2 separate regions of the Homo sapiens genome follow, and region 1 is linked to region 2. Evidence: promoter capture Hi-C in human tissues and cell types (Jung and others, 2019). All regions are on one chromosome and are shown on one strand. Each heading gives the region's core, a stretch centred on a gene start or on the middle of the fragment in contact. The rest is flanking DNA. Distances are from core to core; before and after follow the strand shown. Region 1 holds the start of LINC01778 (long intergenic non-protein coding RNA 1778). Region 2 holds the start of MATN1 (matrilin 1).

Evidence for each region. Contacts are between HindIII fragments. The study calls those that stand out against the background at their distance.
Region 1: a contact is called between a fragment that was not itself captured here and the fragment with the promoter of MATN1 in region 2, in 4 of the 25 tissues and cell types used here (dorsolateral prefrontal cortex, heart right ventricle, spleen and 1 more).

Annotation. Positions count from the first base shown.
Region 1 is chr1:30,821,940-30,825,860 of GRCh38, reverse strand. It overlaps LINC01778 (long intergenic non-protein coding RNA 1778), which reads right to left and starts at 1,209. Exons shown (of 3, transcript NR_146732.1): 1 at 1,033-1,209. RefSeq lists an enhancer at 1,482-1,984. The HindIII fragment of the contact is 5,771 bases long and covers 1-3,921 here.
Region 2 is chr1:30,721,503-30,725,657 of GRCh38, reverse strand. MATN1 (matrilin 1) reads left to right here and starts at 2,073. Exons shown (of 8, transcript NM_002379.3): 1 at 2,073-2,200; 2 at 3,907-4,155. The coding sequence starts at 2,107. MATN1-AS1 (MATN1 antisense RNA 1) reads right to left here. Exons shown (of 4, transcript NR_034182.1): 2 at 3,936-4,155. The HindIII fragment of the contact is 16,103 bases long and covers 1-4,155 here.

The sequences.
Region 1 (3,921 bases), core at 763-3,262, 100 kb before region 2:
TGTGTGTGTGTGTGTGTGTGTGTAGAGGGTGGGGAGATGTGAAAAGAGATAGACATCTTTTCAATGCAGCATGATTCTTGAAACGAAAGTTGCATACACAAGCTGACACAAATATCATATGGAAGGAGAGCGGTGATCCTATCTGGCTGCCAGAGAAGCCCTCAGAGCCTCCCAGGTGAGTTGGTGCCATCTCCTCAGTCACCTGAACTATGGCTCCACGTCCTTTACACCTCCTCCTGAGTTTGGGTCTCTCCATCTCTACTCCAGCTCGGGTAGCCTTAGTCCCCCCTGCCCTGACTTTCCCCAGTCCCTGCAATGACTGGTCTCCTAGTCCCCTCCAGCCCATCCTCCACACAGCTGCAAGAGTGGAGATCTTCCTAAAATGCAAACCTAATCATAGCCCTCTCCCCTTCCATCCCCCAACTGCCTGAGAATGTGGTCCAAGATCCCTTAGCACGACATTCAAGCCCTTTGGGATCTTGTTCCTGCTTCCCCTTTCAGCTTTACTTTAAACTCCTCCTCCTCTCCAACACCCCGAACCCCACCATCTAATTTCCTGCCATAGTGCCTCGAGTGTTCCTTGCTTTTTACTGCCTCCAGTCTTTGCGCAGGCTGTCCCCTCTGCTGAGAATCCCTTCCCCACCGTTCCTCATCTGGCTCTTTCAGGTCCTGGCTCTGTATCCCTTTCTCCCAGCAGTCCTCCTGATTCGGTAGGTTGGATAGGGACCCCTCCTCTGTGTTCCCACAACCTCCGTGCTCCCTCTATTTTAATCCTTAACACACTGCCTTGCCATTTTCTCCTGGACTGCTTGCTTGATCAGACTGTGGGGGTGGGGGGCTTTGTGAGGGCAGGGGTGGAGGTGGACTCATCTTTGCGTCTGCAGAGCCCAGGTGCACCTGGATGCTGGAGGGTGCTCATTGCTGTTTGCAGGGTGTATGGATGAGTGTGTGGTTCCAGGTTGTGGGGGCGGGGTGGTCTTGGCAAGGGACTGTGGGCCAGGTTGAGGGAGAGGGCCGAATGGGCGTCTTTACAGGAATTCTGATGCCTGGGCCAGCAGGAGCTCAGCTTTCCCCTTCTGGCCTGAGTAGGGGGTCTATGGGGCTCAGTCGGAGGGGAGGGGTCCCTGGGCCCCATCATAGTCTGGAAAGAGGAGTGGACGCGGCTCTCCCGCCCGGAGCTTCCTCCGAACATCCCTCTGCAACGCCGGCCTGGGCTGTCATAGCAACAGCCCGCCCCGGCGGGGGCGCCGGCCAATGGCAGCCGGTGCTGGTGAGGTAATGTCCCGGTCTGGAAGCCCATTGGCTCCATTTTTGTCCACTTCTGGGTCCGGGCCTGCGGTGGGAGCCGCGAGGGGGAGGACAGAGCATGCGCAGGGAGCCCAGCTGTCTACACCGGCGGCGCGATTCCTCTCCCTGCGCTCCCCGCTCTCCCTCTCAGTTCTGGGCTGGCTACCTCTGTCCTTCTCCTCTCTCTCTGCGTGCCGTACCTGTCCCTGGTTGTGTCGGTCGTTTGGTGCGTCTGTCTCCCTGACTCTCTTGGGGTCTCGGTGGCCCCTTCTTCTTGCCCCTGTCTCTGCCCCGGGGTCTCTGACTCTGAGTGCGCCTCCTCGTCTTGTCCAAACAAGGGCGCAGTGAGAGTTCCTTGACTTGCAGCCAGAAGGTGACTCACTGCTTCAAACCGCAAGGCCGCCCGGCAAGCCTCCGGCACCTTCTTCCCGAGTCTGTGGGAAGCTCTGGCACACACACAGGCCGAGGGCTTGAGATCCCGAGAGGCCCGGGCTGGCCTTTCCCTGGTTGGCCTCACCAGACCTTTGTTCTTGTTGACTTGTTGCCCAGTCAAGGGAAAGGCAGGACGGTCTGGGCTTTGGGGAAGGGAAGGGGACAGATTTAGAGAACAATTGGGCATGAGCTTCCATAATGCCAGCAGGGGAGGTTAGACAGCTGGAGGGACTTCCAGAAAACTACAAAGGCATAGGCACTGGGCCGAGTGAATGAAAAGGGCAGTTGGACTTTGCTCTACCCACCCCTCTGTCTGTCCATCCATCAACACAACACATTGATGCCCATCAGTGCCAGGTTCTGGGCTTGGCGATGGCTCAGTCCCCTGAGCGCCTGGAATCACAGCCCAGTCTGGGAGGCAGGCACACAAATCCTGGGTTTCAATGGGATTCCAGAAGAAGGCAAAACTCACCCTGCCAGGTGGGGTGCTTGACTCAGGCAGGGAAGCTTTGTGGAGGAGGGGGTCTTTGAGCTGGTGTTTGGGAGGATGGCCAAAAGCTTGTTTGGATCAGCCTGGGCAGGGCACAATGACAGACCCATCTGGAAGGATCAGGGGTGGTTGGAAGGTCCAGGAATGTGAATACCTGCATGAGGGAGTTTGCACTTGAACTCAGGGGCAGTTTGCAGCCACCCAGGGATCAGAGCAAGGGAGAAGTGTGGTCAAAGTGGTTTTCGTGCAGTCATGCCGGTGACAGAATCTTGGCTGTCTTGCTCAATGCTGCACCCCAGCCCAGGGTAGAGTGCCAGGCCCACAGTGAGTGTTCACACACTTGTCGAAGAAAAGCGTGAACTGAAGGGGAGAGGTTCTGATGGATGAGGGCTGAAATGATGAGGTCGTCTTCATGTGGTGGTGGAAGGGAGAGGAAAAGGGATGGGTTCAAGAAAGGTAAAGGACAGGTAGAAGTGATGGGCCCTACTGGTTTACTGGAGGTTGTGGGGGTGATGGAGAGGAATCTGCTTGGGGTAACACCTATGTTTCTGGCTTGAGCAACTAAAGGTTGGGGGAGAGGGAATACGGGTGGGGTAGATTTCAAGGGAAAGGTGGTTAGTTCAGAGTTGGAGCCTCAGCATCTGAGATGCTTGTGAGACCTCTGGGTGGGGCTGGGTGGGAGAGGTCTGGGCTGGGGTGGCCTGCATAAAGGTGGTGGCTGACGCTGTAAGTAGACATGAGCTGCTTAAGAACTGGGACATGGCCAGGCGCAGTGGCTCACACCTGTAATCCCAGCACTCTGGGAGGCCGAGGCAGGTGGATCACGAGGTCAGGAGATCGAGACCGTCCTGGCTAACACGGTGAAACCCCGTCTCTACTAAAAATACAAAAAATTAGCTGGGGTGGTGGCAGGCGCCTGTAGTCCCAGCTACTCGGGAGGCTGAGGCAGGGGAATGGCGTGAACCCGGGAGGTGGAGCTTGCAGTGAGCCGAGATCGCGCCACCGCACTCCAGCCTGCGCGACAGGGCGAGACTCCGTCCCAAAAAAAAAAAATAAATAAATAAATAAATAAAGGAAAAAGAAAGAACTGGGACATTTACGAGCAGGTTTCTCTGGTGAGGGGGTCTTTTTGAACCCCAAGGAGACCTGGGTAGGAGTCAGAAGTCCTGGGTTTTTGTGGATTCTGACACTGGCTTGCTGTGTGACCTCGGGCAAGTCATTCCTCTCTGGGCCACTGTCCCCTGATCTCTCAGCAGAGCCTGTCAGAGGTGGAGAGTGACCTGGACCACTTCTGTTTTTTAAGGCCTCTGGATATGGTTAAAAAAAGAGATGTGCCCTAACAGGGTAACAAAAATTGTGGTTATTGACTATGTTCACATTTACATGTTAACATTGTGAACAGACACAAGGATTGTGAATAGACTGTCATTTGAAGGTTAAAGTCCAGACCAGAGTCATGTTGGGAAATTTGTCCCCTGGTTCTGGCCTTCCTGGTTGCTTGGAGTAATTGCCCTTTTAGATAGGAAAGCTGCCTGCCTGGGGGTAGAGAAGGGGTGAGGGTACGTGGAGGCCAGAAGGAGCTGGGCCAAGGTTTTTGTCTGAGCAGGAGCTCATAAGTTCTTGCTCTAAGCCTGGGCATTCATGCCCCTCTTCTAATTCCTGCCAGCTCCCAACTTGGAGTCTTTTCTCCAGGAGCCATCAGAGGCCATGCC
Region 2 (4,155 bases), core at 824-3,323:
GTGCCAGGCACCATGCTGGGTCCCAGGGATTCAGTGGTGACTGAGACGGGCAAGCCCCCTGCTCGGAGGGAGCTCACGTCCTTGGGGAGACAGGTAACACCTTAATTACACCATTTTGGGAAGGGAGAGGCACCACCATCATCACACCTTGCAGCATCTCTGGAGAAGAATTCGACTTCAAAGTTGTAGCAGAAAAAGGAATCAGCAGCTTCAAGTGGTTTTTGGAATTGGGGAGGGCAGTGAATTAGGCACACATGAAATATAAGGGGAAAAAGTCAGAAGGCAATGCTCTTAACCTCCTCCTTCTCTAACACTGGTGCAAAGGGGAGTGAGGCCTGAGCTTTAGGCTTGGCTCTGCCCCTAAACTGGCTGGTGGCTTCGGGTAAGTCAGTGAACCTCTCTGGGCCTCAGTTTCTCCATCTGACAAATGGGCCAAGAGACTCAAATCTGCTGACTTCACAGGTTTGTTGGGTGAGCAAATGAGATAGAGTGATAGAATGAGTAACTGCCATGTCAAGGGTGGAAGGGATTGTTATAATTATTGCTAAAGAGTGTGGTAGCGGTGAGTTGGGTCTGCTGCACCCAGCAGTCGCTTTTTGTCTGTACATTTCCTTTTATTGAGGTATAATTTACACAGAGTGAAGTGCATAGGTCCCAAGTCTTAGGATTCTGCCTCCTGGAGCAATGACAATCCTTTAACTCCATTTCCACTTCTGTCCCCCTCTTGCCCCTCACATGGGGCAGGCAGATCAAGAACGACCATTCCCACTGCACCATGGCAAGCTGAGGCTCAGAGAGGTTAAGTCACCAGCTCCAGGTCACACAGCCAGTTAGGAGCAGAAGTGGCTTTGAACCTGGATCTCTCAGGTAGCCAAGCCCATGCTCTTTCTGCTCTATCTCATGAACTACTTGACCCAAATGCAAAGAAGGGGATCGTTCCTGCTGATGTTACTTTGTTTAGAAGGCTTTATCTTTGCCTTCTCTGTGCTGGGCCTGATGCAGAGTTGAATCCACTGGCTGACAGGTGAGGTGGGCCAAGCAGGGACCCACAGGGGGAAGAGATGGGCAGGGAGAAGCCACCTACATCAAGCTACACTGAGACAGCAGCATGGCTGAGAGCCGGGCCTGGGGCTCTATCCTGGCAATAACACTTCTTAGCTGTGTAACTTCAGACAAGTTATTTTACCTCTCTGTTCTTTAACAGTAGCTGCTTTAAAAAGTTGTCAAGAGGATTAACTGAGAAACCTCATCTAACTCCTTTGCTCCTTGAATCAACCCTAGGAGGCGCTATTACCATCCCTAGTTTCCAGATGAGCAATCTGAGACATGAGAGGTGAAGTCACTTGCCCATGGTCACACAGGTGGTTTGCTGGTATAGCAAACCCAGGTAACCTGGCTCCCAAGTCTGTGCTCTTAACCATGGTCTCCACTGCCCTGCCCATACTAACAGTGAAGGTACATGTTAGCCCTAATTATGACCTTGAAAGATTCTACAAGGCAGAGAGTTAGTGAGAGGAAAGGATTCTGGGCAGATGGCCCTGCATGTGTGATGGCCTGGAGGCCTTCGAGGAGAATCCAGGGGTAGCTGGAGAGCAGGGCGTGTGCGGAGAGCAGGGCACAGTGAGGCTGGGGAAGGGGAAGTGAATTTAATGAGAAACTTGGGGTTGTGAGTGGGGGAAGGATTTGGGTGTGGGATGAAGGTGCAGGACAGGGCTGGGCCGGGCCATTGGACTCAGGTATGCCTAGGCTTGGGGTGGAGCTTCAAGGCAGCGCGGGCTCCAGCCCCTGGAAGAGCCACCCCCCACCCACCTGAGATTTCCCAAATTCCAGCTGCCGCTCTAGTTGCTTCTGCAAGCAAAGGAGCCCTTGTGGTCAGAGGGGCCTCTGAAGCCTGGGCCAGGCTCTCCCGCCCTCTCAGGGCACACACACCTCCATTCAGCCCAAGCCCCGCCCTTTGGGGGGGCTGGGGGCCAGGGCGGGCTGCCCCCACGTCAGTCGTCAGTTGGGGGCCACCTGACCCAAAGGCTGGGCGGGCAGTGGGGTTGATAAGACCTGGACCCCACTGGTCCCACAACCGTGCCGGCTGCTGCCCGTGCTGCCAGAACTATGAGGGTCCTCTCTGGCACTAGCCTCATGCTCTGCAGCCTGCTGCTGCTGCTCCAGGCCCTGTGCAGCCCTGGCCTCGCCCCCCAGTCCAGAGGTGAGGGGGCTTGCGTGAGATGGGGGCTACTGAGCTAGTGGGCCCTGACCCTCAGCACTGGGGGCTGGGTACCGATATGGCAGGGAGCACACGGGATCCAGGATGGGGAAGGGAGCAGGGCGGCAGTGGTGGGCAGTGGGCTGGTGCAGGAGCAGACAGGGACCATGGTGCTTATAAGGGTCAGGGCAGGGGTGCTCCTCAGCCCTCAGGGACCATGCATGAGGCAGGGACCTTGGTCTTCCAGGTCTCTGGGGAGCAGAAGCTACTCAGAGAGCTGGCTGACGTCTGGAGCTGCACCAAGCCCAGGGCTGAGCCCATGGCTCTTTGATGACAGCAGACCTGGGATGCCAAGAGCTCATGCCCCCTTTGCAGGTCCTTCCAGCCTTGGGCTCCCTGGGGGCAATAACACCCCCCAGAGTTTCAGGTTTGGGCACTGAGTCCTGGAATGCCCATTCTTCCTGTACAGATGGGGAAACTGAGGTCAGTGAGGGCCTAAGACCACACAGTGAGATAGCGCCAGAGCCTCTAGGTTATTGATCTACTGCTGTACGGTGTGGCCAATTCCCTTTCCCTCTTTGGGTCTCAGTTTACCCATTTGTAGCCTTAGCGAGTAGACAGCAGGGAGCCTGCTGCATGGTGATTTCTAAGGTCTCCTGAGGAACTCTGATGTCCAGAGCCCCAGTCTAGGGCACTGTGAGTTACTGTGACTTGGGGGTTGGGACGGCCCTGCACGTTTCCCCTTTCCTCTTTGGGATTGGCTCTGCTCAGTTCAGACTCCGCATGGGATGGGGAGGGAAGGGCCTTTGTAGTGAGACCTTCCTGACTGCAGGCCCAGGCCAGTGACAGTAGCCTTATTCTCTCCACTGGACATGTGAGATCACGGAGGCTCAGAAAGGTGCAATGATCTGCCCAGGGCCCCACAGAGTGGCTGAGCCAGGATTTGAACCCAGGCCTGAACTCACTCTGACCCTGCATACTTCCCAGCACAGGGTGCTGCCTTCTTGGGTCTCTGGAGGACATTGCTCCTCGGGGGTGTGTCTTGGTGTGCACCTGATCAGGCTGCCGAGGTGGCCACCAGGAATTCCTGCTCCTTTTCCCTGTCTTTGGCAACCCGCCAGCAGGCGCTGCCAGGCTGAGGGAAACTGGTTCCACTTTGGTGATTTGCTTTGATGCTCAGATGAAAGAGGCCATGTTGACGGGCACTGCTTTGGCTCTCAAGCCTGTGCCCATGCCTGGAGGGCCCATCCTTGGTGCCCTCCTGCCCAGCTAGAAGAAATAGCTGCCCTTGTTTCTGGCAGCAAGTCTGGGCTGAAACCTAAATGTGTTTTCAAGGCCGCAGGGTCCTTTGCCACCCCTGGAATACTCATTGCTTGCCTGGCCCCCTGCTGGCTCCTCAAAACATCCTGTAAGGAGGGATTGCTAGCTCACTGCTCAGATGAGGAAACTGAGGCTCAGAGAAGTGAAGCAAATGGCCCAAGGCCAGGCTTGGCCCTCTGTGTTCCCCATGGGCTGAGCAGGGGGCCTTTGGCAAGTTGCTTGCTGGTGTCTGCATGTTGATAAAAGGGCTCAGCTGCCCAGCTGAAGTTTGCAGCCTACTGGGCCCGAGGCCTCGCACCTGGATCTAAGAAGCCGCACTCTGTGTGTTCAGGCCCAGTCCCTGACCTGTGTCTCTGCTCTCTGCCTTACCCCTCCTGCCCCACTCCCAGGCCATCTCTGCCGGACGCGGCCCACAGACCTGGTGTTTGTTGTCGACAGCTCTCGCAGCGTTCGGCCTGTTGAATTTGAGAAAGTGAAGGTATTCCTGTCCCAGGTCATCGAGTCGCTGGACGTGGGGCCCAATGCCACCCGGGTGGGCATGGTCAACTATGCCAGCACCGTGAAGCAGGAGTTCTCGCTGCGGGCTCATGTCTCCAAGGCCGCACTGCTGCAGGCTGTGCGCCGTATCCAGCCGCTGT